Linked DNA regions of Homo sapiens: all the other regions are linked to region 3. The links are contacts of gene promoters, found by promoter capture Hi-C in human tissues and cell types (Jung and others, 2019). All regions are on one chromosome and are shown on one strand. The core of a region is centred on a gene start or on the middle of the fragment in contact, and the rest is flanking DNA. Distances in the headings are between cores, read along the strand shown.

The links. Contacts are between HindIII fragments. The study calls those that stand out against the background at their distance.
Region 1: a contact is called between the fragment with the promoter of ZNF43 here and the fragment with the promoter of ZNF737 in region 3, in 1 of the 25 tissues and cell types used here (hippocampus).
Region 2: a contact is called between the fragment with the promoter of ZNF100 here and the fragment with the promoter of ZNF737 in region 3, in 1 of the 25 tissues and cell types used here (heart left ventricle).

The regions. Positions count from the first base shown.
Region 1 is chr19:21,834,753-21,837,452 of GRCh38, reverse strand. It overlaps ZNF43 (zinc finger protein 43), which reads left to right and starts at 1,271. Exons shown (of 4, transcript NM_003423.4): 1 at 1,271-1,417. The coding sequence starts at 1,415. RefSeq lists enhancers at 234-1,206, 1,318-1,477, 1,498-1,547, 1,588-1,677, 1,207-2,180. The HindIII fragment of the contact is 27,139 bases long and covers 1-2,700 here.
Region 2 is chr19:21,766,233-21,768,932 of GRCh38, reverse strand. It overlaps ZNF100 (zinc finger protein 100), which reads left to right and starts at 1,354. Exons shown (of 5, transcript NM_173531.4): 1 at 1,354-1,506. The coding sequence starts at 1,504. RefSeq lists a silencer at 1,190-1,367. The HindIII fragment of the contact is 21,319 bases long and covers 1-2,700 here.
Region 3 is chr19:20,564,451-20,567,166 of GRCh38, reverse strand. ZNF737 (zinc finger protein 737) reads left to right here and starts at 1,386. Exons shown (of 4, transcript NM_001159293.2): 1 at 1,386-1,529. The coding sequence starts at 1,527. All of the region lies in intron 2 of LOC105372316 (a long non-coding RNA gene), which reads right to left. RefSeq lists enhancers at 1,534-1,583, 1,794-1,953. The HindIII fragment of the contact is 4,540 bases long and covers 1-2,716 here.

The DNA of each region.
Region 1 (2,700 bases), core at 22-2,521, 1.3 Mb before region 3:
ACTCCGTCTCAAAAAAAAAAAAAAAAAAAAAAAAAAAGTAAGTGTAGGCAAATGTAGATGCAAATACACATCTGTTTACACAAATTCCTACTTTCAAAATCACAGAGAATGGTCACTTTTTAGCCTTTTTATGAATAAAATCCTGGATTCCATTTATTATTCCATTAGAACTTCTGTACCTATTTTGAAATTTGAGATTAAATTGTCTTTTGCTGAGTTTGCCCAGTTTATATTTCAAGTAATACTATATCATGGGAACACATTAGAGATTTTCTATATTTTTATGTTTTACATCAGTTTCTAAAACCTGGAAATTATCTTGTTTTGAATTTCTTATGAAAATGGAATACTATCCACTAAGAATATTCCATTAGCATACTGCAACTTAAAGTCAGGAGATCTAAACTTTTTCTGGTAACATTACCTATATTTAGTTTTTTAAAAAATGTTCTCTTTTTGTATATGCTTTTTAATTTGCTTTTAAAACATGTGCATAACATTTCCTTGAATTCTATTAATGGACCTCAATGCTTTAAAAAAATTTTTTGATAAAATAATTCAGTCTGAATGTGATGGTTCATGCCTATAATCCCAGTACTTTGGGAGGCTGACTTTGTAGGATTCATTGAGCCCAAGAGTTTGAGACCATTCTGGGCTATCTAGTGAGGCTTCATCTCTACAAATAAAAATATGATAACAAATTAGCTGAGCATGGGGCCACATGCCAGTGGTCCCAGCTACTCAGAAGGCTGAGACAGGTAAATTGCTCAAGCCTAGATTGCTGAGGCTGCAGTGAGCTGCAGTCATGACCCTGCACTCCAGCCTGGGTAACAGAGACTCCCTCTCAAGAATAAGAAAAACCCCACAGAGGATAAATAATAAAATATTCAATGTTTGTAATACTTCCTACTCAAAGGGCCAGAAGCCAGGAAGGTCATAAAAGCTGAAATTCAAAAACAATTGTTTTCATTTTTTAGTATCCATATAGTATATTACTTATAAGTGAAGATGACCTTATACACAAGGTTAAAGGCAAATACCCTCTGGGTTGGGCCTGCTCTGCTCAGGGAGGAAGCCCTGCCTGAAAAGGCGGCAGCCTAGGCTGTCATTCTTTCTTCTTTCAGCCCAGCGTCTGATCACATCTTTCATTCAGGGTTTGCGGGGGCAGGACCTTAGAAGTTATCCAATCAGGGACGCTGGGCTGGAAACCGTCCAATCAGGCACGGGGCAGGAGAGGACAGGGCGGCTTCCGGGATGTGGCGGGGCCTTTGTCTCTGGCTGCAGTTGGAGCTCTGCGTCTCGTCTTCGTTCTTCTGTGTCCTCTGCTGCTAGAGGTCCAGCCTCTGTGGCTCTGTGACCTGCGGGTATTGGGGGATCCACAGCTAAGACGCCAGGACCCCCCGGAAGCCTAGAAATGGTGAGAGTGCCGGTCCGACATCCCGAGAGGGGGAAGGGGCTGTGGCGTGACTCAGGCCTTCCCGCAGTCAGCTCCACAATCTGCGCGTGCCGGAGTTCTTGCCCAGCTCGGCCTCAATCCCCTTCAGCCATAAGATGGCGGCTGCTCTGGGAGGCAGCCCCGGGCGTCCTGTCTCTTCTCTGCGCAGTGACTGTGTCCCGGCCTGCAGCCCTCTGTGGGCAGCTCTGCAGCCGCAACGCGGCGTCTCTCCCAAATTGTGCAGGGGCCACAGGAGGGTCGTCAGGAGAGAATCCTGACTCGTGATGCAGTTTCATGAATAGGAAGAGCTTTGGTCCGTGGCATTTCTAGTCCCTCTTTTGGTCTATTAGAAACAGGAGAGTCGGCCGGGCGCGGTGGGTCACGCCTTTAATCCCAGCACTTTGGGAGGTCGAGGTGGGTGGATGACGAGGTGAGGAGTTCGAGAGCAGCCTGGCTAATATGGTGAACCCCGTCTATACTAAAAATACAAAAATTAGCTGGGCGTGGTGGCGCGCGCCTGTAATCGCAGCTACTAGGGAGGCTGAGACAGGAAAATCGCTTGAACCCAGGAGGCGGAGGATGCAGTGAGCCGAGATCGCGCCATTGCACTCCAGCCTGGGCCACAGAGTGAAACTCCCTCTGGAAAAAAAAAAAAAAAAAAACTAAACTAGATTTTCCTTTATTTCTGACATTCCCAAATGCCACCTTCTTCTCCGCAATTCACGTTATCAACTATTTTTTCTTTTTTTTCTTTTTTTTTTTTTTTTTGAGATGGACTTTCGCTTTTGCTGCCCAGGCTGGAGTGCAATGGTGCTATCTCGGCTCCCTGCAACCTCCGTCTCCCGGATTCAAGCGATTTTCTTGCCTCAGCCTCCTTAGTAGCTGGGATTACAGGTGCCTGCCACCACACCCAGCTAATTTTTTTTGTATTTTTAGTAAAGACGGGATTTCACTATATTGGCCAGGTGGTCTCGAACTCCTGAGCTCAGATGATCCACCCGCCTCAGCCTCCCAAAGTGCTAGGATTACAGCACTTAAAAATAGCCACCGAGCCGGGCTATTTTTTTTTTTTTTTTAGTGTACATTTTAGATACAGAGATACGTTTTAGATAAAGATATTTTAGATATCTGTATATTTTTGATACAGATATTTTAATTATTTTTTGAAAAATCATTGGATGGACTTAAATAAATTTTCCTTTCTTCTTTCCTTCTTCTTTCTTTCCTTCCTTCCTTCCTTCCTTCCATCTTTCCATCCTTGCTTC
Region 2 (2,700 bases), core at 105-2,604, 1.2 Mb before region 3:
TCAGCTCGGCCTAAATGGCCAACCATTTCAATTATAAACTAATAAGTTTTGGATGATTTGTTATGCCTCAATAGCTAACTAATACATGCACCCAGTACAGATAAGTTGCCAGGATTCAGTGACAGGTTGACTAAGAGTTGGCTTCTAACAGTGGACACCCTCTAGGTACTGATTTCTTCCCCTGATTTAAAGTTCGATGTTTTGTAAGAGAATTTTGGGTAATGCAGAAATACCTGTAGACATGTATGCGTGTGATTGGTGCTTAGACTCACATAGTCCCCCACACCACAGGAGAAAACAGATAAACACAGCCTGATTGTTAGGGCCAAGACCATATAGCAAACTATGTTTGTTTTTAATCTATTTTCTCCATCTCTAAATACTGGAGTTCAAGTGTGTGGACAGAACTGAAGACATAGTTGTTTTTTCTCCTGTGGCCCCATCATCCTTTGTTCACTATCTGGTCTCTAAAAGAAAGGTGGGCAACAGGTGGCCAGCAGTTGTTTATTACCTGTGGCTATTTTATTCCTACTGCCCTCAGCTCTTTCTATGGGAACTATCTGGTCCACCCTAGGAACCAAAGAGAGATGTTTGTAGGGAGAGTCTCTTCTTTCACTCTCGCAGGAAAGAGATGTTCAGGCCCTTCACACCGCTGACATCAGAGCTGCACTTCAATGTGACAGCTATTGTCCATGTGTGGCTACTGGGTTCCCACAATGTGCCTGGTCTGAAATGCGATATGCTAGAAAGGTAAAATACAAAGTCAGCTTCAAAGATTTAGTTCCAAATATTTATATATTTTATCAATAATTACATATTTCTCACACATTAAAATGATAATATTTTGAATATAATGGGTGAATTACATTGTTAACAATCAGTTCAACTTGTTTCTTTTTAAAGTTTGGCTACTAGAAAATTTCAAATCCACATGTGGCTGACATTCATTTTAGATGATTTTCTCTTTTCTAAAATCTCAGGCTGCCTGCTCAAAGGGCCAGAAGCCAGGAAGGTCATAAAAGCTGAAATTTTAAAATAATTGTTATATTCTTTTCACTTGTGTATAGCTATATAATGTATTATTTATTTATACATATGACCTTATACACAAATTTAAAGGCAAATACTCTCTGGGATGGGCCTAGCTCAGCTGAGGGAGGAAGCCCTGTCAGAAGAGGGGGCAGTCTAGGCTGTCACTCTTTCTTCATTGAACCCGCATCTGATCACATCTTCTGTCACTCAAAGCCTGACAGGGCGGGGATTTAAGCATTATCCAACCAGGGACGCTGGGCTGGAAACCGTCCAATCAGGCATGCAGCTGGAGCGGACTGGACGGCTTCCGGGTTTGGCGGGGTCTTTGTCTCTCGCTGTAGCCGGAGCTCCAGGTTTTGCTCTCACTTCTCTGTGTCTTCTGCTCCTAGGGGCCTAGCCTGTGTGGCCCTCTGACCTGCAGATATTGGGAGATCCACAGCTAAGACGCCAGGACCCCCTAGAAGCCTAGAAATGGTGAGAGTGCCCGGTCCGACATCCCGAGAGACGGCGAAAGGGCTGGTTGGAACTGGTGGGAAGTAGCTGTGGCGGGACTCAGGCCTCTCCGCAGTCAGCTTCACAATCTGCGCCTTGCCCAGCTCGGCCTCCGTCCCCTTCGGCCATAAGATGGCGGCTGCGCTGACAGCCAGGACCCCAGGCGTCCTTTCTCTTCCCTGCGTAGTGACTGTGCCTTGGCCTGGAGCCCTCTCTTGGCAGCTCTGCACCCGCAGCGCCGCGTCTCTCTCAGATTGTGCAGGGACCACGGGAGGGTCGTCAGGGGAAAATCCTGACTCGGGGTGCGGGTTCATGAATGGGAAGATCTTTGGTCCGTGGCTTTCCCAGTTCCTCTTTTCTCCTATTAAAAATGTATGGGAGTCACTGCACAAATATTAACGATTTTTTTGTTTGTTTGAGACGGAGTCGCTCTGTCGCCCAGGCTAGGGTTTAGTGGCGCGATCTCCCCTCACTGCAACCTCCGCCTCCCGGGTTCTGGAGATTCTCCTGGCTCAGCCTCCCGAGTAACTGGGATTACAGGCGCCTGTCACTGGGCCGGCCTTATTTTTTTGTATTTTTAGTTGGGACGGGGTTTCACCTCGTTGGCCAGGCTGGTCTTGAACTCCTGACCTCGTGATCCGCCCGCCTTGGCCTCCTAAAGTGCTGGGATTACAGGCGTGAGCCACCGCGCCTGGCCTAAAGAATTTAATCAAACAGTGATTCAAGAATCATAGAGTATCCAGCTATGGTTTGTAGTTTGTTGTCTATGGGAGAGGCTTGAAGGAAAGTCATTTATAAAATGTATGATGAAGAAAACTAAATTTAGTAATTGGTTACAGTAACGTAGTTTCTTGATTTGTACAATACAGGTGAAGATTTCCTGGTTGTGTAATCAGAGGTTAATTAACAGTTTATAGTTGTTTAAGCCTACATTTTCTCTGAATGTAGTAATTAAAAAAAAAATGCACCTGAGTTAGATTTTTTTTTTTTTTAAGTAGGAACCCAGGGACTAGAGACACCTCAGTGGAATTGCCTGTCTCTTAATTATTTTCACACTCCACGGGGAACTGATTTTCTGCTGCATTTTTCACCTGTGTCCCAAGCAGGTTGTTAAGTCTAACCCCCGTCCCCCATTTCTCCAGCCTCACTCTGGCTTGCAGTAAGATACTAAATTTC
Region 3 (2,716 bases), core at 137-2,636:
AAGCAGATTGATGTAATAAGCCAATCTTAATAAGACGAGGAAATGGGAAAAGATATATATATATATATATATATATATATATATATATTTTCCCTCACCAGACTATGGGGGATTCACCACCAGAGAGGGAGGCAACAGCCACAGCTCTAGAGTCAGCCACCCGTCCATCGTACACAGACAAGGAGAGGTCTTATGAAGCTTCAGGGCGGTCTGGGACCTTAGCTCTTTTGTAACGAGTTGTTTGGCATAAGGCCCAGTGATGAGAGCCCTTCACGACTTGCCTCAAGGAACACAAAAAGGTCAACCTTTTTTTGTGATTGTCTATTGTTTTTCAACAACTAATATATAGGAATAGATTGAAATAGAGATTTCTTCAATACAGCGCTGGATGAACACCTCAGGGGCTCACACAACCTGTTCTGGGACTTGGTGACAATTGTTTGTGTCCACATTCAATTGAGTTCAGATTTAATATGTGACTTTTCCTCCACAAATTCCCCTGTCTTGATGAATCGGCTCTGTCTAGGCAAAGGGTAAAATAAACCCCTTGGGCTGTTACACAACCTCCGCCTCCTGGCTTCAAGTGATTCTCCTGCCTCAGCCTCCGGTGTAGCTGGGACTACAGATGTGCACCCCCACACCCAGGTAACTTTTTATATTATTAGTTATTATTATTATTTATTAGTTATTATTAGAGATGGGGTTTCACCATGTTGGCTAGGCTTGTCTTGAACTCCTGACCTCAAGTGATCTGCTCACCTTGGCCTCCCAAAGTGTTGGAATTACCAGCGTGAACTATCCGTGCCTGCCTCTAAATGATTTCTATCTCCTATAGCTGTTGGAAATTAAAGATTGTTTCAAATTGAAAAAATAAAAAGAATGTGGACAAAAATAAAATATAAATAGTTTTTTAAAATTACGAGATATTACAAAATATATATGTAAATCTGGAGTGCTCAAAAATGACAAATTTGATTTATTTATAAGGTTTTATTAAAATTAGCTTTAATAGATTTTACCATTACCAAAGTAAAAGTTGATTTTCTGTTGAACAAAAATTTTATGTATTATTAATGACAGCAAAATACTTCTGTTCACCTTTTTAATACATTCAACAAGAAAGAGAGTAAACAAGAGATAAAATATTCCCATGCTCTGGGGTGGGCCTGGCTCAGCTCAGGGAGGAAGCACTGTTTGAAAAGCCAGCTGCTTAGGCTGGCACTCTTTGTTCACTTAACCCAGCATCTGATCATATCTTCTGTCACTCAGGGCCTGAGGGGGCGGGGATTTAAGCATTATCCAATCAGGGACGCTGGGCTGGAAGCCGTCCAATCAGGCACGCAGCCAGAGTGAAGCGGAAGGCTTCCGGGTTTTGCGGGGCCTTTGTCTCTGCAGCCGGAGCTCCAGGTCTTGTCTTCACTGCTGTGTGTCCTCTGCTCCTAGAGGCCCAGCCTCTGTGGCCCTGTGTCCTGCAGGTATTGGGAGATCCACAGCTAAGACGCCCGGGAGCCCCTGGAAGCCTAGAAATGGTGAGAGTGCCGGTCCGACATCCCGAGAGAGGGGGATAGGCTGGTTGGAACCGGTGGGAAGTGGCTGTGGCGGGACTCAGGCCTCTGCGCAGTCAGCTCCACAATCTGCACCCTGAGTTCTCCTTGCCCAGCTCGGCCTCAGTCCCGTTCAGCCATAATTTGGCGGCTACGCTGACAGCCGGGCCCCCTGGCGTCCTGTGTCTTCCCTGCGTAGTGACTGCTCTGGCCTGGAGCGCTCCGTGGGCAGCTCTGCAACCGCAGCCTCCCGTCTCTCCCAGAATGTGCAGGGACCACCAGAGGGTCGTCAGGGGAGAATCCTGACTCGGGGTGCAGGTTCATGAATGGGAAGAGCTTTGGTCCGTGGAGTTCACAGTTTCTGTTTTCTGCTATTCAAAATTTATGGGGCCGGGCGCAGTCGTTCACGCCTGTAATCCCAGCACTTTGGGAGGCCGAGGCAGGCGGATAACTTGAGGTCAGGACTTCAAGATAAGCCTGGCCCAAATGGGGAAACCCCATGTCTACTAAAAATGCAAAAATTAGCTGGGTGTGATGACAGATGTCTGTAATCACAGCTTCTCGGGAGGCAGAAGTGAGAGAATCGCTTGAACTCCGGAGGTGGATGTTGCAGTGAGCTGAGATCTTGCCACTGCACTCCAGCCTGCGCGACAGTGAGACTCCGTCTCAAAAAAAAAAAAAAAATTCCTGGTTATGTAATTACAGTTTAATTGGCAGTTTATAGTTGCTTAAGCCTGAATTTTGTTTCCCCTAATGTAGTAATTTCCCAAAAAATGCACATGAGCTTAGATTTTTTTTTTTTTGAGGTAGAAATCCAGGGACTAGAGCTTCTTCAGTCTAATTGCCTGCCACTTAATTATTTTCACACGCCACAGCGGACTGATTTTCCCTGGCATTTTCCACATGTGTCTCAAGCAAGGCCTCAAGTGTACCCCATGTTCCTCAATTTATTATTTTTATTTTTTTTTTTTTGAGACGGAGTCTCGCTCTGTCGCCAGAGCTGGAGTGCAGTGTCAGATCTCGGCTCACTGCAACCTCCGCCTCTCAGGTTCAAGCATTCTTCTGCTTCAGCCTCTGGAGTAGTTGGGGCTATGGGCACGCGACACCACGCCCAGCTAATTTTTGTATTTTTAGTAGAGATGGAGTTTCAGTATGTTAGCCAGGAATGCTAG